Linked DNA regions of Homo sapiens: all the other regions are linked to region 7. Evidence: promoter capture Hi-C in 16 types of primary human blood cells and fetal thymus (Javierre and others, 2016). All regions are on one chromosome and are shown on one strand. Each heading gives the region's core, a stretch centred on a gene start or on the middle of the fragment in contact. The rest is flanking DNA. Distances are from core to core; before and after follow the strand shown.

Region 1 (2,700 bases), core at 143-2,642, 190 kb before region 7:
CTAAGGAATAAAAAGTATAAGGAAATTTCCCCCTAAAGCAGTTGCATGATGTTGCTAAGACAGTGTTGCTCTCCATCTGATATGTAACATATATACTAAAATGTACTAGAATGTTTATTACTTTCCTTTCTATTTTTTCTGTCCCCTACTCCACCTCATTCTTAAAGGGCTGCCTCAAATCTTGATCTCTTCATCAAAGTCTATGATATTAAAATCTACATTTAGCTTTCTTTCTCTGAATTCCTAGGGTACCCATTCATTCCATGCTACAACATTTAGTACTCAGTTATATACTATTTTAATTGTTGTTTTTCTTGAATTCAAGTCTTTCTAAGTTCTTTGGAAGTGGTTACAGTGATCAGTATTTCACCTTTTCATGGTGCAAGGCACAGCTACAACTATTGGTTCATTTAACTGTTTTTATTTATTGATCTTTTATTGTCTTTATTAAAGACAAAAACCCATTTTCTTCTAGGAAACCCTTCATTCAAGCAAAAAGAATTTAGTTATTGTCTTTGGTGCCACATGCTATGAGAAAGTTATGGGGCATATAATAAGATCTCCCTACCCATAGGCTTCACAGAGTCTGTAGAGTATGTAAATATACACAAAGAATTATAGTATTCTGTGACTGAATGTTGCTGGTACCTTGGGGACACAAAAATAGGGTAGAATCAGAAAAAGGGTCTATGAAGACAGTAGCATGTGAAGGATCTATAATTTTGAAACATAAGGAGAATATACTAAAAGCAGGAAAGGGGCCGAGTCAGATGTCCCTTGTCCTAACACCTTGTTTTTCCATATTATAGCACTTGTTATAGTTGGGGTCGATGACATTTTAAAGGATATTATCATATTTATCTTTTTGTACTTAGCATTTAGATAGTGCCAGGTGTATTAAAAAGTACTTAGCAAATACTGAATTTGAAAATTTAATAAAACTCTATGGGCCAAATTATGTTTAATGTGTTCAGTTAGGCCACAGCCAAAATTACAGCAAGAAGAGTAGTGTGAAATAAAGATAAGACAGTGGATAGCTTTCTGTAGACTTCATATAACATAGATTAGAACTATTCTAATTAGGTTTATAAGGCTATTAATAAGATTCCTAAACCTATTGTTCTGCCTTAAGAAAAGTTGTCTTCTGTTGTCTCAAACAAATTAATTAATCTCCCCAAATAGCAAAATGGAATATGTTACTAAAGGGTTGAAATTTAGCGTATTGGAGTATGAGATATGTTTATTATTCATGAAGTCAAGAGTTTTTAAATGAAAACATTTGTGTATTCTCATGCTTCGAAAATTGCAAAATCTGCAAAATAAAATCTTAAATTACAAAAAAATTAAAACTATTGGTAATAGGGAGCTATTAATATTTTTTGATTGGGAGCAAATTGATTAAGACTGAGTGATCTCCAGTAGTCTATACAATAAAATGGAGACACAAGAAGAACATTCATTCAACAGTTGTACTTTATGTGCTGGGCCCTGCAGATGCAGAAAATTTCAATGAACTGTAATAAATAATATGCTAGTGTTAGGAAACTTGGACTGTAGTAACAAGCAAGGACACAAACTAAGGTTATAGCAAGAAGAAGGTGAAGAAGATGGAATTAACAGGATTTAGGTATGGTGCGTGAAGGAGAGGTTGATATTAAAAATGTATGAGATAGCAATATAAAGGTGATAATGACTGCTTCTGAATCTCTTTTCTACTTTAGGAATTATTGAAGCACTTCATAGGTATTATCAGAATGCTGCCACAGATGTGAGACGGGTGTGGCTTTCTTCAGTGGTGGATCACTTTCATTCATCTTTAGGCGACAAAGGTTGGGGTTGTGGTTACAGAAATTTCCAAATGCTACTTTCATCATTATTACAAAATGATGCTTACAACGATTGCTTAAAAGGTATGTGAAATCTAGTACTCTGAACTTGTCATCTGATAAAATACATATGATATAGAATGATATAGCATACACAATTAATAGCTTTAACAGTTAGTGGATATTTATATAAGAAACCTGAATTCTGGTTAGAGGAAGAGAAAATGATAGAAGATGTCAGGAATAACTGTCTTAAAAACCGTAAAGTTCCCCGAGTACATAATACACTGCTAAATATTATTCAGTACTTTATTAACAGTCATGTAACATGTTTGCTTGTGTAATTTTAGGTATGTTGATTCCTTGCATTCCAAAAATTCAATCTATGATTGAAGATGCATGGAAGGAAGGTTTTGATCCTCAGGGGGCCTCTCAACTTAATAACAGGTTACAGGGAACAAAGGCCTGGATTGGAGCATGTGAAGTATATATACTCCTGACCTCCCTAAGGGTAAAGTATGTACCTTAAAACCTAAATAAATGTTATTTCCTTATCGGGGAGCTTTGTTTTGTAAAATTTTATTTTTTAGCAAAGAGATAGTTTAAAAATAAAATTAAGTAGCACTAAATTAAGTAGCAATGAAAATCAGCAGCCTATTCACTATCTTGTGCTCTTCTCTACCCTCAAGTTCTGTCTCTCAGAGGCAACTGTCACTTCCATTGTTTTTAAATGGTATGCTTTCATAGCTGTTTCTTGGTTTATGAGTTTCAGATAGTCTGTTTTAATATCTTATACCTGTTTACCTTCAATCCTTCTGATATGATTAAATCTTGGTTTTTATTAAAATCAGAGTTTACATCATTTTATAAAGTC
Region 2 (2,700 bases), core at 102-2,601, 220 kb after region 7:
AATTAAAATGGTGATTAACTAATGTTCAATCTCATAATTTTTTTGTCTATTAAGTAAATAAAAACTTTGAAACCCTGTAGGAATCTACAAATAGGCTTTGGGCCCACATTAAATTTTTGGAACAGGAATAATATTTCCTCCTTATTATGAAGTATCCTTTATTTTAAACACAAACTAGCTTTTTATATGGTCAATTGGTTATTATCTGAAAACTAGCCCAAACAAAGCAACCTAGAAAACATAATTTTTTCCCTATAATAAAAATAACTCTCTATTCTATTATGATGATGATGATGTCTAAAGGGTAGTTAAAAAACAACTTGGTCTAATTTTCATATTTAGTATTTATTTTTTAGAAAGGAATGAGGATGGAATTATTATTTATTGCTTTCAATACAAATGGAACATGAAGTCAATAAAATTAATACAAAGTTTCAAATTATTAGTCTCTTTTTTTTTTTTTTTTTTTTAACATGATGGTATTCAGCCTGACCAGGACAATTTTGGAGTCAAGTAGTATAAAGATACTTTAGCTTTCAAACATAAATATTTGTCTTTCAAGGAAAGAGCTGCAGGGAACCCTTACCTCATATTTTCCTTTCTTCTCTAGAGGCTCTGACTCCTCAGGCCTCTGACTCCTCGTGCCTTCATCCCCTCTGAGTTCTTCCAGGATGAGGACTGTCTCCCAATTACTATAGTGACGAGCTGGGAAAATATCTGAATGCATGCTGTCACCAAAATAAACAACCTGTAAGACAGATAGCAGATGCTGTTTGAGGCACAGAATTGTGAAAGTGGCATTTATTTCATATAAGGAAGAAGAAAATTTCTCAACAGGCATCAGAGTATGACAATCAAAAATTGCATAAACATCTTCACTTATTTGAATAATCTCACAGGTGACCATCAACTTGTCTCATTTGATTCACAGGGTGCCAGATTTGTCTTAAGAAGTTATACAACACATTCACAGGTGGAAGACAGCATAAGGTGAAATAAGTGATTTTATTCAATTTTCCTAAAGAAGTGAACCTATATGTTTACATAGATGTTTACAATTATTAATAAAATGGCCCCTGCAGTTGAAGAGCTGGTGAGGTATTAGAGACAACTTGTTATAGTGGATTAGAGATTATTAAAAGTGCAAATCACAACCACTTTTCAAGTTTCTGGGCCCAACCCCAGACTGGTTGAAACAGAATCTGTGAGAGTGGGGCTGGGCATGTTGAATCTGGAAAGTTCCCTAGGTAGTCTGAGGCAATGGAGTCTGAGGACTCCATTGATTGAGTCCATACCTCTCAATTTTCAGATGTGAAAACAGAGTTAAGGGATATGAGAATCAGCATCTGCAAGTCAGACTGCTCCATCCATTAACCCTCAGGAGTCCCCAGGAGACTGTGGCATGGTGACAGCCAATGGAGCAGGGCTCTGTTACCCCACGATCTCTCAGCTCACAGAAATTCTGGTAAATATTTTCTTAGAAGAAAGGGTTCTGCTGTTAGAAATGCACCAATGTCCAACATCAACAATGTGATCATTCTGTCAAAAACAAGTGTATCTTTAAGCTAGTCTGTAGCATAATTTCAGTTGTTTGTTTTATATATGGAAACTTTTTGGATAGATTGTTATCAGGATAACATTCCACAGGCATCCTACACACTCATACACCCCCTAAATCTGTGGTGCCCTGCTTGGAATCCTTGCTCCTCTCTATCACAGATAGACAGCCTGTCTACATTGACAAAGGAAAGGCTTATTTAAGCAGAAGAATTAAGAGGAGAGATTTGGCAGTTCACAACTGCTTATGTCTGCAAGTGGGCACTGAGGACTTCTCCTCAACTGGGAAATACCTTGGGTTCAGGTTTGCCAGTCATTTTCTTCAGAAGTTCATAGAGGTGGACAGCGTTCCCTTGGGAGTACCAGCCAGGTTTATCCAGAGATGGCAGTGCCTCCTGCTCCTCATCATTCTCTGAAAATACAGTTTGACAATCATATACTTTTTAATCAAGTGAGAGTAGCCAGTTGGGCAGACCACACTTAGGGCATGGCTACAGGACATGTACAAACAAGAACCTTGTGGGGAAAGGAGCTGACATTCAGTGGTACCTACATATTATAAGGCCCTTATAGGTATATACTTTTTAATCCCGTGGCCTTCTTAATTGGGGAAAATAAGGTTCAAGGAAGTTATTTTGCCCAGGATCTCAATGCTGGTAAGTGATTTATTCAGTGATTAGACAGACATCTGCTTGACATCATGCCTCTGCTTGACATCATGCCCCTACTGCTACAAAACGGTTTACCAAATAAATAACACAATGAAAGTCATTAGGTGTTAATTTTTTAGAATTGAGGGTGAGGAAGGTAAGTTTTTAATTAGTAGTCTATCAGATTCAGATGTAAATTTTGCACCCTTGGTGCCTCAAATGCTTTACCCTAGTACCAGCTTGGGGTGGGTGGGGAATGAAAGGACTATCTGATGCCAAAGCACAAGTTTGTGGACCATTCCAAGTTGTCCTCTCCCAGCACATTACCTTCCTACTCCTGTTAAAGCAGGGCTAGTGAAAGAGGTAAATGTCTTTGCCTCTCTGAATTTTGCCGGCTATTCTATTACTTGTACGTGAGCTGAAAAGCTGAAGAGAATCTGCCTACCAGCATGATGATTAAGGAAGATTGAGTAAGGTTTTATGAAATACATGA
Region 3 (2,898 bases), core at 160-2,659, 170 kb before region 7:
TCTGTAGGATGAAAGAGGAGTCTGAGAAGACTTTTTGAGAAGTAACAAAAGAGTTAAAAATTTACCAGCCTGGCTAACATAGTGAAACCCCGTCTCTACTAAAAATACAAAAAAAGCCAGGTGTAGTGGCGTGCACCTGTAGTCCCAGCTACTCAGGAGGCTGAGGCAGGAGAAACACTTGAACCCGGGAGGCAGAGGTGGCAGTGAGCCGAGATCACACTACTGCACTCTAGCCTGGTGACAGAGACTCCGTCTCAAAAAAAAAAAAAAAGAAAAAAAAAAATTGAGTGTTCCTACAGTTTTAAGCAGGTGACAGAATTATGATACTATCTCAAGCAGGAAAAATGAATATATATGCTATAAAGTGTTTGCACACAATATCACAGTCCACACCATAGGTAATTACAAAGGTTTAAGAATACATGCTGAGATCAGTTCTTACAAAGGTTAAGAATACATTACTCTAGTGACTATCAATATTTTTTGTCTTCATACCCCTTGACACTCTTTAAAAAGTATTGATGTTTCCAAGAATTTCCTGTGGGTTATATCTTCCAGTGTTTGTCGTATTACAAATTAAACCTGAGACCATTTATTTATTTATTTTAATTGTTTTACCTCACCTGGACCATGTGAAACCTGAGCCCTTTTAAAAACAGGAATGTACAAACACATATTCCATTATCCATAACCCTCAGAACAATTATGCAATTGCATGTTATTTAGCCTCTGGAAAATCCTGTGAGTATCTTTCAATAAAAATGCTAATATTTCTACCTATGAAATTTCAAGCTTGATTTTCAAGATTGAGATTTTGCAGTTGAATAATTTCTTACATGTGTATGTATATACACACATAACACAGAAAAGTGTAAAATTAGTCCCATATAAGGGGTGTGTGTGTATCAGTGTCACATAAAACCAGGCTAATTTTATGTTTATTAGTCATAATCATCTTCCTCATCTTCATCTTCCTCAGATTCTTCATTCTCAGCTGCGAGTAGAACTGCTTCTTGTGCAGCCCTGAAAGCCTGCTCCTCCTCCACACTAGGATCATCCATTTCTGTAATTTCTGGTCCACTGGGGTATTCTTGATAAACTGGTGGTGGAACTGGGGGTGTATAATTGTCTGGACTATACTTATGACCCCAGCCTATGTAGAAATTTTCAAACTTTCTATAAGTAAGAAAAAGAAGAAGAAAAAAAGATCATTATATAATTTCTCAGAAAAACTGACCCTTCTGTAATATTAAAGTGCTTAGAATATCATGGTCCTATAATTTAAAAAAGCAATACATGTAAAATGCTAGAAGTGAAATATTCCTCAATGATTCTTCTACCACAGGGAATTGTTTTCATCCAAACTGCCTAAGCTGGTTAAAAAAAAAAACCATGGGGCCAGATACTGTTAAAATGTACCCTACACCTAGACCACAAGCAAAAGCCTTTCTTCCTTCAATTATTTTCAGGGGAGGAAAAAAAAAAGTTACTACCTTCCACAAAGTTAGAAAGATATAAAAATAGCTAACTGTGCAAACTCCTGGTTGGGCAAGGAGTTGGGCTTGTGGTTAGAAACCTATGTGTTACTTTTTTTTAGGCATGACCATAGGCAATCACAAAGAGTTTACCTGGCACATCAGACTTGGAGTACAATGCACTGCTGTCTTTACGGGAAGTTGCAGTCAAGGACGCTGGCCCCTTTGGCTCGTCATGCTCTTCAATGTTTGCATTCCTAGACCAGGTGCTTCCGTTCCTAGGTCTCTTTATCTGAGGCCTTCAGCAGAGGCCTTTCCAGCCCCTCCTTTCTCTGCTCTCTGTGCTCAGCACTTTTTCACTTCTAGCCCTCTCATCCTCCTCTTGGTCTCCAGGTCTGTAAAACTGCAGGAGCCGTTTGAGGATTCCCTTGTCAATGAGATGACCCCAGCACCTCCACATCTATGATAGCCATATCTGTGCTGATCCACCTGACTCTCCAATAGAGGGCCATTCCATGGGGGAAAATGGAACAGGGGGATGTCAAAGCTTTCTCTTGTTTATACTATCACAGTAAATGATTAAAGGCTTAACTCTCATTTTTAGCTTGTTGCTTTAATGGCTACTCTAACACCTGGCCGCTCAGCTTTCTCTCCAGAAATGATCTGAGATTTAAACTAAACATTGCTTAGAAATACCTCCATTAATCTACTAAGTGAATAAGTCATTACCCAAATAATCAATGATGAAAAACCATATTTTATTTCAACAAATTGGATAATTAAGATGAAAGGGTAAAAGTCCAAATTACTACTTAATGTCCTGAATTTGATGTTTTATTGTGTATCACAGATGTTATTTTAATAAATTTTATGCCACACACACATAATATGCCAAAGATGAGTTAAAACGATAGTAGCAGCTGGGCATGGTGGCTCAAACATGTAATCCCAGCACTTTGGGATGCTGAGGCGGGGCGGATCATGAGATTAGGAGTTCAAGACCAGCCTGGCCAACATGGTGAAACCTTGTCTCTACTAAAAAAAAAAAAAAAAAAAAAAATACAAAAATTAGCTGGGCATAGTGGTGCATGCCTGTAATCCCAGCTACTGGGAAGGCTGAGGCAGGAGAATGGCTTGAACCCAGGAGGCGGAGGTTGCAGTGAGCCGAGATCATGCCACTGCACTCCAGCCTGGGTGACAGAGCAAGACTCTGTCTCAAAAAAAAAAAAAAAAAAAAAAACACGAAAAAAAAAACCAAAGAAACAACGATAGTAGCTTAACATTCTAGTGGTTATTTATAATTTCCAGAGCTTAACTAATCACAGAAATGGCTTTGTAAGTGGTCAGATACTTACTTGCCATTGGAGAAGGCATATGCTCCAGGCCAAAGGTTGGATTGAAGGACTGCAATAGCATATTGTGG
Region 4 (2,700 bases), core at 188-2,687, 190 kb after region 7:
CCAAATTGACACAGTTATATTGGTTTAATTTTTAGTGACTTTTAAGACCAATATATGCATATTTTCTAAAGTAAAATGCTCTTTTTTTTTTTTTTGAGACAGAGTTTTGCTCTTGTTGCTCAGGCTGGAGTGCAATGGCACCATCTCGGCTCATGGCAAGCTTCCGCTCACCGCAACCTCTGCCTCCTGGGTTCAAGCGATTCTCCTGCCTCAGCCTCCCCAGTAGCTGGGATTATAGGCATGCGCCACCACGCCCGGCTAATTTTGTGTTTTTGGTAGAGAGATGGGGTTTCTCCATGTTGGTCACGCTGGTCTCAAACTCCCGACCTCAGGCGATGTGCCTGCCTCGGCCTCCCAAAATGCTGGGATTACAGGCGTGAGCCACTGTGCCCGGCCAAATGCTCTATTTTTAGTTTACAAATGTACATGATGTTCAGAAAATATTTTCAGTCGTATTTTAACAGTTGGCTAGCAACAGAAAAGGAAAATATCTGAGTCTAGCTCTGCATTAAGTCAGTTCAATGAACGCGTACTACTTGAAAAAGCAGCCGGGCAGGGTGGCTCACGCCTGAAATCCCAGCACTTTGGGAGGCCGAGGCGGCTGGATCACCTGAGGTCAGGAGTTCGAGACCAGCCTGGCCAACATGGTGAAACCCCGTCTCTACTAAAATTACAAAAATTAGCTGGGTGTGGTGGCAGGCGCCTGTAATTCCAGCTACTCGGGAGGCTGAGGCAGGAGAATCGCTTGAACCCAAGAGGTGGAGGCTGCAGTGAGCCAAGATTGAGCCATGGCACTCCAGCCTGGGGACAAGAGAGACTTCGTCTCAAAAAAAAAAAAAAACAAAAAAACATACTTTTTGAAAATTAGTGGTCTGTAATTGTAATCTTGCAGTAGTTGTTTATTGAATACTAGCATAAGTAAGGATTGAATGGGATAGTAAAGGTTGTCTTTGCCCTTGAGGAACTCAGGCTCATTGAGGGGGGTACCGTTCCTTGAATGTTTCCTTTTTTTCTGCAGCAAATACACACATTCAAAACATCTACTGCACACAAGCAAACTCAGAGAGGACCAGCCTGGCTGAGAGGAGTTGACCATCCCCCTCAGGACTGACTTCCTTTCCTTCAACATTATTATATAATTAAAGTCCTAGACTATATAGAAGTGACAGGTATGCTCTCTATGCATTTATTATTATGGGAGGTGTTTTACTTGGAAGCAGTACTTTCTCCATGTTAAGTGCTTTGAGCTCTGAAGGGCCATCTTAATCCATTCTCTCTGACCTCAGAGGTTGTCAAGACCTATAGAAGAGTTTCTATCAAGCCACATTAGGAAAAATGTGGATGTCTACTTTTTGGCTTCACTTTTTTTAGGATTTGTATTTAAGGTAATTTCTTTGAGAACAGGTAAAAGGAAATGGTTCAATTAAAAAGGAAAGGGTCATTTAAGTAAGTTACTAATTTTTGTGAACACCTATATGTCTTAGATATGACCTGATGGGCAGAGAAGGCATACTAGCTTTAAATTAGGATTAAATCCCGGTTTTACAATTACCATGTATTGCATTTCCCAAAATAAACTACTCTGAATCTTGGTTTCCTTATCCATAATGTAGGGATGATAAAACTTGCAGTATAAGCTAATGTTTTAGGATGCATTTGGAGACTGCATTATAAGGTTACAGAGAAGATAACAACAGAAACATTTGAGAGCTTACTTTGCGCCTGACACTGTGCTAAGAGATTTCAAGTATTAATATAGTTATAATATAGAGGTTAGACAGCAAGCATCATGTCTAGCATATAATATGCAATCAATTAAAATTTCCATTTGTCTTCCTCTCAATTTTAATTTCTCATTTAATTTACATTCAGACAAATAGTCATCTAGCTTCATGGTTCTCAAACCTGGCTGATCATTATATATAGCTTTGAGCTTTCAAAAAATACTGATGCCAAGACTCTACCCTGAACCAATTAAATTACAGCCTAAAGTGCAGCTGAGTTTGAGAATCATGGCTTACCTTTTCTTGAACTCCTTAAGTTAGGGAATACATACTCCCTTCCCAGTTTTGTCAAATTGATTCAAATTTGCCACCTTATAAACATCCAGCTATTGCAAAGAGCCTGGTATATCGTAGAGTTTCAGTATATCTATTTCATAGTTTCCCCCCTGTGGTCTTGCAGAATGGAATTAACCTGAATTCAACAAAAGAGGTCTTTAAAATTCATAACAGCAGGTGTCGTCTGTCTTTGAAATTCCCTTGCCAAAAAAGGAAATGATTTCTTAGTGATATGCTTTACTTCTGTTGATCACTATTTGCTCTTTTAAAGTGTCCAAAGATGTTTTAATAGATACTTGGTATTTGTTGTTTTCTTTAATAAAGTATAATTTACATGTAGCACAGGAATGGTCATAGCAGTTTTATTTATAACAGCCCCAAACTAGAAACAGCCCAAATGTTCACCAACAAGTGAGTGAATGAACAAATTATGGTATATTCATACAATGGAACACCACTCAACAATAAAGAGGAACAACCTATTGATCATCAACATGGATGAATCTCAGAGACATGTTAAGTGAAAGATGTCAAAGGAATATATATTATATGATTCCATGTATATGAAATTCACTAGCATAGAAAACTTTTTTATGGTGATAGAAATCCCAGGAATGGTAGCCTCAAGGTTGAGGGGAGT
Region 5 (2,930 bases), core at 39-2,538, 210 kb before region 7:
TAGGAAGTGCAGAAGCTGGGATGGCCCTTCAGAATTGTCACTGTTGAGGCTAGAGGCTCATGTTTCTATCACTGAATCAAGAAGTCTTTGGATATCACTGAATCAAATCCAGAGAGGAGGGTTAATCTTGGGTGAGGCAGCAGCTCCCTTTGACCAGAGTGCAGTTTCTGAAGTGGAACTTGGCCTAGAGCCCTCATCATTGGGGGAAGAAAATCCTTTAGTCCTGAACCAGAACTTGGGCAGTGTACCAAAGGTTCTACCACACATACTTTTTCAGTTTTCCAAAGATAAAGAAATGAATGGCCTTCTTTCAGCTTCATGCCTCTTCTTTCTCATCCTCCTTATTTAGTCTTCCTCCTTTAAGCAACCTATAAATGTTGGCGCCAGGCCTCTTACTTTGCTGCATTGCCTCTCTAGGTGATACAACATACTCCTGTATTTTTAAAAGCCATCTACCTATAAACCACTTTCTCCCAAATTCAAATTTCCATCCCTGACCTCTTCCTGGAGGTCTAAACTCATATATCAAACCTCCATTTGGATGTCTGATGGGCATCTCAAATTTAATAAGCCAAAACAGATTTTTTTATTCTATCCCATTCCACTTTATTTCTTTCTCAGGCCTCTTTATCTCTGTAATGATACAACTACGCAGCCAGAAACTCCAGTTAAAAAACTTATGAATCATTCTTTACCTTGCCCTTACCAGTGCCTCCTGTCTTTCGCTTCTAGCTCCAAAATAGTCCACATCTACACCTAGTCCATCTCTACTGACACTTCTTCTAGCATTCCATCATTTATTTCATAAACTGCAGTAGTATCCTAATTAAGCAATCTGTATCTACCTTGACTCCTTTATAATCTATTCCCTGTCCAGAAGGTGTAGTAATTTACAATTAAATTTTTATTTATTGTAATCAAATAATACAAATATATCATTTAAAGGGTCCAATAATAAGTTTATCGTGAAAATTAACACTTCCCACCTGACCATCCCCAGATGCCGCTCCCCAGAAGCTACTATTTTCAACTTGTTTAGGTATTCTTATTGGTATCTCTTTTCTAATTAAATATTTTAAAATCATACACTGCTATTTCTTAATTTGTAAAGTCATAGACATTTTCTATTGTTATAGATGTAAAATGAGAATTTATTACTCATAACTGCACTAACCTCCCAACATACACATTTACACATACTTCCTGATCGCACATCCTCCAATATAGTTCTATCAAAATTATTTTGGTTAAATCAATATTTAAATTTTTATGTAAAAATTACATTCCTTGTATAGTTTTTTATTGTTCTAAAATTAATTGCCTGTTTTCTGTCATTATCATTTGCTTAATTTTCTAACTACTCATCACTAACTCATCTTCAAACACACTGCTGGAGATCTGTATTAGTTTCCTGTTGCTGCTCTAACCAATTACCACAAACTTGCTGACTTAAAATAACATAAATGTATTATCTTACACTTTTAGAGGTCAGAAGTCCAAAATGGGTCTCACTGGGCTAAAATCAAGGTGTCAGCAAAGTTGTGTTTCTTCTGGAGCCTATAGGGGAGAATCCATTTCCTTGCCTTTTCCAGTTCCTTGAAGCTACCTACATTCCTTGGCTTCTGGACCCCTTTCAGCAATTACATCTCTCTGACCTCTGTTTCTGTTATCGCATCTCCTTTTCTAAGACTGACCTTCCTATCTGTCTCCCTCTCATGAGGACCCTTGTGATTACATTGTGCCTACCTAGATAAACCCCTCTTGTCAAGATCCTTAATCACATCTACAAATTCCTTTTGCCATGAAAAGTAAGATATTCACAGGTTCTGTTAATAAGGAAATAGAATCTTTTAAAAAAATTTAATATTAGAGACGGGGGGGGCGGGTCTCACTATGTTGGCCAGGCTAGTCACCAACTCCTAGCCTTAAACAATCCTCCCACCTTGGCCTTTCAAAGTGCTGGGATTACACGTGTGAGCCACCATGCCTGGCCAGGACATAAACATCTTTGAGGGACACTATTCTGCTTAACAGAATATATTTCTCTCAGTATGGTCATAAACATGAAGTGATCTGTCAGTTGCCTCTTTCCTCCCTCCCTCCCTTTCTTTTTCTTCCTTTCTGCCTTCATTCCTGTCTGTTCTCTCTCATCTTGGTAGAGTTTTTTATGGAATTCCATACGTTCTACTTTCTTTTTTTCTTTTCTTTTCTTTTCTTTTCTTTTTTTTTTTTTTTTTTTTTTGAGATGGGGTCTCAATCTGTCACCCAGGCTAGAGTGCAGTGGTGTGATCTCGGATCACTGCAACCTCTGCCTTCTGGGCTCAAATGATCCTCCAACCTCAGCCTCCTCAGTAACTAGGACCACAGGCACACGTCACCACGTCCGGATAATTTTTTGTATTTTTGGTAGTGACGGGGTTTCACCATATTGCCCAGGCTGGTCTCAAACTCCTAAGCTCAAGCAATCCGCCTGCCTCGGCCTCCCAAAGTGCTAGGATTACAGGTGTGAGCCACCATGCCCGGCCCCATACCTTCCACTTTCTTTGCTTCTTCCCTCATTTTGGTGGGAGCTTCCTGGGAAATAATAAGAAATAATGTTTCAGGAGAAATTATTATTAAGTCATGAATTATCATGTCATTTCATTGATAACTAATTTTCCATTGTTTTTGTTGTTATTCCTCTCTGTATCTCTTATTAGTTGGATGTAGAATCCAATTTCTCATTTGATTATTTTCCTTTCCTGTTTTTCTATCCCTTGTTCTTTTTGTTCTGTTTTCTGAGAAATTTCTTGGGCTTTATCTTCCAGGCCTCTATTAATATGTGTATTTTAAAGTATGAAATATTTTTAATCCCAACAGCTATTTCCTATTTTGGATTTAGAGATTCAATACATTTTCTTATCTATCTGAGGATATTAATTGTGGTTTCC
Region 6 (2,898 bases), core at 185-2,684, 240 kb after region 7:
GTCCAAAGATGAGAAACCAAATTCATGGAAAACTGAAGGATATACAGTTTACCACCTTCTAGAAAACCTAAAACCTGGACATTCGGTGAGCTATGAGCATACTGGTCCCCAATAACACTGCTTTGCTAAAATGTACTTGGTTGGGCTGCTGTCAGCAGAGATTGAGGTATGTCATGAGAAAAAAAATCAACTTGTCACTCAGCATTGTTTAAAATAATGATATGGTCATGGCTGACACTTTTAAAAAAGCCCTGGTCTAATTTGCTATCTGTATTTCATAAGACAATGAAAACTGAATGACTCATCACTCACCCAAGAATATATTCGCAGAGAAGTCTACAGTAATCACTGTGAGAACTGGTAATTAACAGAAGAATTTTCCCAGCATTCTTTAGCTGTCGAAGCCATTTTTTCACAGATTCAGGACAACTATGTAAATATCTGCCTGGATCTCTTTTTATTTCTGGAAAATATATTCCACAGTTTTCTGAAAAATAAAAATATCAATGAGGTTTTTCTTTTTAAACATTTTTTGACTAAATATATTCTCTAACAAGTTAATCTCTTTCAAATCTATAGATAAAACTAAAAGGATAAGAACAAGGTTTGACCGACCTAGCAATTATGCCAATACTACTTGCTTTTTAAGAATAGTTCTTTACTTGAAAACACAATATTGTTTGAAAATGTTAGTTGATAATATTCGCTGGCTATTTGACAAGAACTGATAAACTGTTAAAACAGGTAACACAAGAAACACAATATGATCAGCATTTTCAAATGCTGTAAGAGAAAACCTTACATTTGAAATATCAATTGTTACAAATACTCTTTTAATTATTCAATGAATATTTGCTGAATACAGACAAGAAACAAATCAACACTCAGATATTGCACCAGGATCACATCTTTTGCATAAATAGCCAAGAAGGGCGATGAGTTCCTCAGAGTCACAGTTTGCTATTTCAGATGGAATCTATACTAGGGGAGCCATTCTATAGCCTCTGAGAAGTGCTGAGATATCAAAATGGAAAAATCGGTGCAAAATAGGCCAGAACAGGCCAAAAGGCACTGTATTTGACAGGGAACAATGAATGACTCGCATCACTGAAGCGGGGTTGCTTGCTCTGCCCCTTTAGAGTGGCCACGGGGTCTGGCTGAGCTCCAGGGCAGATGGTGGCAGTGTTTCCAGATGTCCTGACCAGACTTACCCATAGTGCTTGACCCAATGCCTTTAAAGTTGTGGGTACTTAGCAGGCAATTGCAGATTTAGTTGAAATGTTACTAGATTCATAACACATACTGTTCTCAGAGCATGATAGAACTAGTAAGCAGATAAAAAGGATTCAAGATTTTACTTTCTCTAATTGTTAGGAAAAGGACACATGCATAGACAAAAAAAAAAAAAAAAAAAAAAAGGTTAAACAGCTTGTACTGAATGATAGAGTCTGCAATAGCTAGATATGGGATACATCCGTGACTCTCTCCAGTGTGAAACACTTGAAATACTTGGCAGTTATATTTCAAGAATATCAGGACATCAGGAAGAAGAGTTGTTTTTTTTTTTTTTTTTTTTTTTGAGACAGAGTCTCACTCTGTCACCAAGCTGGAGTGCAGTGGCATGATCTCTGGCTAACTGCAACCTCCGCCTCCCGGGTTCAAGTGATTCTCCTGCCTTAGCCTCCCTAGTAGCTGGGACTACAGGCGTGTGCCACCACGCCCAGCTAACTTCTGTATTTTTAGTAGAGACGGGGTTTCACCATGTTTGCCAGAATGGTCTAATGGTCTTGATCTCTTGACCTCACAATCCGCCCACTCTGCCTCCCAAAGTGCTGGGATTACAGGCATGAGCCACCATGCCTGGCCAGGAAGAAGAGTCTTTAAGTGAAACAAAAACGAACAAATAAAAACAAAAAACGGTAGCAAATATTGTGGTCTGCCTCCCCACATCCATCTCCCTCTTTGCTGGGGAGTGCTCTGATATTGTTTCGGGTTTCATCTTCCTCTGAGGGGGTCTGTGATGCTAGGAAGGGCAAGGGTCTCTATCAGTCTACACCTATCACAGTTATTCCCTCCTCCTGTCATTGAATTGTTTAGGAAGTGCTGGGGACCCAGGCATGGCAAATGAGACCTGAGGAGAACTTTGCTGCAGGATCCTGAAGTAATGTATACCACTGATAAAAATAAACCTATAAAGGGGGGAATATCCCCTCTTCTACTACTGGACTTTCCCATGATTATAAATTCTATGTAGAACTGCAGCGGTTATCATCAACACAAAGCACGAGTCTGATATACCAGAGATGGCGGAGTGGACATATGAAAGGAAACAAACCTGGGTCCCTGATGACATCACTGGGTTTCTGCTTTTGTTTCTGTTTTTGAGACAGGGTCTCGCTCTGTTGGCCAGACTGGAGTGCAGTGTGGCACGATCATGACTTACTGCAGCCTTAAACTCCTGGGCTCAAGTGATCCTCCCACCTCGGGCCTCTGAAAGTGCTGTGATTACAGGCATGAGCCACTGTGCCTGGCCACCACTGGATTTCTGATTAAGTCACTGACTAACTCTAACCACCACTGGAAGTACCATTCAACTTCTGGACAACCTCTGGTTGTGTAAAATAACTCAATTTAGTAATAGCTTAAACATTAAGGTTATTTATTATTTGCAACTTAAAGCATCATGATTCAGAAAATATATTGCATGAATATCATAACCAGACCAAAACTAACAAAAGAAATAATATTTTGCAATATGAGAATAATATTTAGAAGACCAAAAACAAAAACAAAGTTTTTGCTCTTTTTATATTTTGCCCTACAGGAACTTCTGTGTGTGAATCTCTAGGATCTATTTTTAACATGCCAGAGGCTATATAATAGCCCTTTAAAAAAATT
Region 7 (2,700 bases), core at 1-2,500:
TTTTATTCAGATATTCTCTTGACGGCAAATTAGATGCAAGGAGCCATTCTAGATTTTCTTAGGGTACTGTATATCTGGAGAAAAGTCACCGATTTTTCCCTCACCCCAGCGGCCCTGAGAAAGCTCGGCCTCTCGGCTCCTCCCAAACGCCCCCAGCGCCAGCGGCAGACCTGCGACTGAGCCTTCAGATCCTTCAGGAGGTCCTGCACGTCCGACGCCTTGGCCTGGTTGCACGGCACCAGCGGCAGCTCCGCGGCGCAGCTGCGGTTGCGGCCGAGGCACAGGCGCTGCGCGAAGGCCGCGCTCCCGGTGGCCGCGCACTCGTAAAAGGCGCCCCCGAGCAGCGCCACGGCCACCCAGGTGAGGGGCGCGAGCGCGGCGGCCGCGCTGATTTGCGTGCACACCAGGGAGCCGCGCAGCGCCGATCCGCAACTCGCGCGGGCGCTGGAGCAGCATCCGGTGAGCAGGCGCCACGTGCGTGCGCTCAGCACGTAGCCCAGGAGGAAGAGCGCGAGCGCCGGCACCAGCAAGAAGACCAGGCCGTAGGGCAGGTTCCAGGCGGCGCTGCACGGGCACTGGAATGCCACGGCGGAGAAGATGCGCTCCCCGCCCGCCGTCAGCAGGGTCACCAGGCCGTAGCCCAAGGCGCTGTGGTGCTTGACGTGCAGGTCCAGCACCGCCCGAAACTTCTCCATGAGCCTCGTCCCCCGGGGCGTCGCGCACAGGCCCAGATCCTTCTGCCTCTTCGTTGTCCTGCTTGTCAAATGGTTTTGGTGGGATGGGGACCGGGGCTTTCCACTCTGCGAGAAGCAGCCTTTTTTTTTTTTTTTTTAAAGGGAAGAGGGCTTCTCAGACCTTCCTAAAGTTTCACTTTCTCATTTCAGCCACACCACCTCTGGTTAACAGAACCAGGCAAGCAAACACCCCCAGGACCTTGACTTCTCTGGCACCCACCCCATTCCAAAGGCAGAGGCACCAGTTATCTTCCTCCCCCAATTCAGGAACTCTGACAGAAGGTTGACCTTGTTCCTTTATTACCACCAATCTGACAACGAACCAGGAAACTAACCTTCTTGACCCACGGCCGCCAGTTGGAAAAACTGGGAAATACCAGATTTTCCTCTATTGCAGCCACCCTAGTTACTAAGCCAGATCACAGTAAAACCAAATAATTATCAAAAAACTGATTACTTACGGGAAACATTATTCAAGGACAAATTTCTGGTTCCTCTTCCATAAGCTAAATCAGCAAAGTCCAGCTCAAGTTCTGGTACTTCTATGATGGGCGGCACCCTTTCCATCTCCCTACCGGACAGAGCCACCAGCCTAGTTCACACTGACTCTTCTCTCCTCTGCCTGATCTCCTTCAGGACATTAGACCAAATATACTGTATTGATTTACTCGTCAATACAATGTTCTTTTCTTTCAGATATGTCATAACACTGTCAATGCCTGGAGGAGAGTAAAATTCTGACTCTGACCACCAAGCTGATCTGCACAGAAGGGGATACATGATTATTCAAAGAATGCTAGTTGAACCCAAAATTTCAAACTGCAGCTACATCTATCTAATGTTGTTTCCTCCACCTTCAGTTTTCTCAAGCAGCGTTGTTCTGACACAAACACTGTAACCACTTTTGTGATATTGAGCCTTACTCTGTGTGACTCCAGACTGAGCTGAGGTGTGCTTGAAAGAACATGGGCTTTGAAGTCAAGTGCATCTTGTCTGTGGTGTGTTTAACAAGTATGCCCCTCTGAGACACAGCATCCTTATTTGTAAAAGAAGGATAATAGTGCCCACTTTTCAAGATTACTGACATGAGTAGATTGAGTAGCATATGTAAAGTGCCTTTACATATAGGATATGTCTGTTAAATGAATGATCAGTGTGAGAGTTTTCCCCTTAAAATGCAATTTGGGGAATAGACAACAAATAATTACATTGTACATAACCTAAGAATCTTGATGAATACTGAATTTTGAATTTTAAACGAGGATCAATTCAGTGGATAGTATTAAGTGACTCAATGACTCTGCTACCTTAAGAGAATTGGTGTACACCTTAGCTGTCTGCTTCACCACAAGGAGAGTATCTGGATATGGAGCTTGGGTGGGCAGTTCACAATGAAATGGTTCTTATTGGTGCCCATCCACCAGGCTTGCCTTATTTTATCTGGAAAGAATAGGTAGCCCATGGAACCAAGTGAATTTTTAGAGAATGGACAAGAAATGTATTATTCTTTTCTTAGTCCAACTTGCCTTCTTAACTACTCCCTCTCCAACACCACCAGCAGGGTGCCTAGCGTAGTGCCAAAAGCTGTCATTCCATAGTGATGTGGTAAATAGACATCTTTTTTCTATGTGTTTAGGGGCCAGCCCCAGATGAGGGTCTTCATGGTCATGCAGGAAAGTTGGGGCCCTCTTCTCTGAGATTAGACCAGATACTGCTAGGCTTCCTGTCAACTTGCAGCAAAGTTGCGTGTTTGAAGCGAATCACTTCTGCTCTGACTGTTATCTTTGTAATTTGTCATCTCCCAAGATAAATTTCTTCCCCTGTGCCTTGAGTAACTCTCCTCTTACTGCTGGACTCTTCTTCACCTCTACCATAATACTCTAAGATGTGTCCTCTCTCGTCCACCCTTTCCCATATTCCATCATGCAGAAACATCACTATATCCACAACCTTTGTGCAGATGGCT

Evidence for each region. The method cuts DNA at HindIII sites, captures the fragments that hold promoters and counts their contacts. A CHiCAGO score of 5 or more calls a contact.
Region 1: a contact is called between a fragment that was not itself captured here and the fragment with the promoter of CALHM6 in region 7, in 2 of 17 cell types (naive B cells and neutrophils). The highest score is 6.3, in naive B cells.
Region 2: a fragment that was not itself captured here is called in contact with the fragment with the promoter of CALHM6 in region 7 in 4 of 17 cell types (total B cells, neutrophils, monocytes and 1 more); the score reaches 8.9 in total B cells.
Region 3: a fragment that was not itself captured here is called in contact with the fragment with the promoter of CALHM6 in region 7 in 3 of 17 cell types (neutrophils, naive B cells and total B cells); the score reaches 6.0 in neutrophils.
Region 4: a contact is called between a fragment that was not itself captured here and the fragment with the promoter of CALHM6 in region 7, in 9 of 17 cell types (naive B cells, total B cells, monocytes and 6 more). The highest score is 19.0, in naive B cells.
Region 5: a fragment that was not itself captured here is called in contact with the fragment with the promoter of CALHM6 in region 7 in 2 of 17 cell types (monocytes and total B cells); the score reaches 8.5 in monocytes.
Region 6: a fragment that was not itself captured here is called in contact with the fragment with the promoter of CALHM6 in region 7 in 8 of 17 cell types (total B cells, naive B cells, monocytes and 5 more); the score reaches 11.4 in total B cells.

The regions. Positions count from the first base shown.
Region 1 is chr6:116,651,214-116,653,913 of GRCh38, reverse strand. ZUP1 (zinc finger containing ubiquitin peptidase 1) reads left to right here. Exons shown (of 10, transcript NM_145062.3): 6 at 1,722-1,910; 7 at 2,177-2,342. Among named protein-coding and RNA genes, the nearest start is that of ZUP1, 16 kb to the left of the region's middle. The HindIII fragment of the contact is 5,992 bases long and covers 1-2,700 here.
Region 2 is chr6:116,236,235-116,238,934 of GRCh38, reverse strand. NT5DC1 (5'-nucleotidase domain containing 1) reads right to left here. Exons shown (of 12, transcript NM_152729.3): 9 at 1,851-1,969; 10 at 587-748. Among named protein-coding and RNA genes, the nearest start is that of TSPYL4, 16 kb to the left of the region's middle. The HindIII fragment of the contact is 3,124 bases long and covers 1-2,700 here.
Region 3 is chr6:116,630,485-116,633,382 of GRCh38, reverse strand. RSPH4A (radial spoke head component 4A) reads right to left here. Exons shown (of 6, transcript NM_001010892.3): 5 at 2,831-2,898; 6 at 398-1,176. The coding sequence ends at 942. All of the region lies in intron 1 of LOC124901386 (a long non-coding RNA gene), which reads left to right. Among named protein-coding and RNA genes, the nearest start is that of RSPH4A, 15 kb to the right of the region's middle. The HindIII fragment of the contact is 1,230 bases long and covers 795-2,024 here.
Region 4 is chr6:116,271,976-116,274,675 of GRCh38, reverse strand. It overlaps a transcript of DSE not described here. Among named protein-coding and RNA genes, the nearest start is that of TSPYL1, 6.6 kb to the left of the region's middle. The HindIII fragment of the contact is 2,550 bases long and covers 163-2,700 here.
Region 5 is chr6:116,673,492-116,676,421 of GRCh38, reverse strand. No RefSeq gene overlaps it. Among named protein-coding and RNA genes, the nearest start is that of ZUP1, 6.2 kb to the right of the region's middle. The HindIII fragment of the contact is 7,093 bases long and covers 1-2,930 here.
Region 6 is chr6:116,218,643-116,221,540 of GRCh38, reverse strand. It overlaps NT5DC1 (5'-nucleotidase domain containing 1), which reads right to left. Exons shown (of 12, transcript NM_152729.3): 7 at 313-487. Among named protein-coding and RNA genes, the nearest start is that of TSPYL4, 34 kb to the left of the region's middle. The HindIII fragment of the contact is 3,347 bases long and covers 1-2,898 here.
Region 7 is chr6:116,459,925-116,462,624 of GRCh38, reverse strand. CALHM6 (calcium homeostasis modulator family member 6) reads right to left here and starts at 1,250. Exons shown (of 3, transcript NM_001010919.3): 1 at 1,196-1,250; 2 at 171-753. The coding sequence starts at 695. CALHM6-AS1 (CALHM6 antisense RNA 1) reads left to right here. Exons shown (of 2, transcript NR_174951.1): 2 at 1,431-2,147. RefSeq lists a silencer at 185-264 and enhancers at 645-724, 735-844. The HindIII fragment of the contact is 9,761 bases long and covers 1-2,700 here.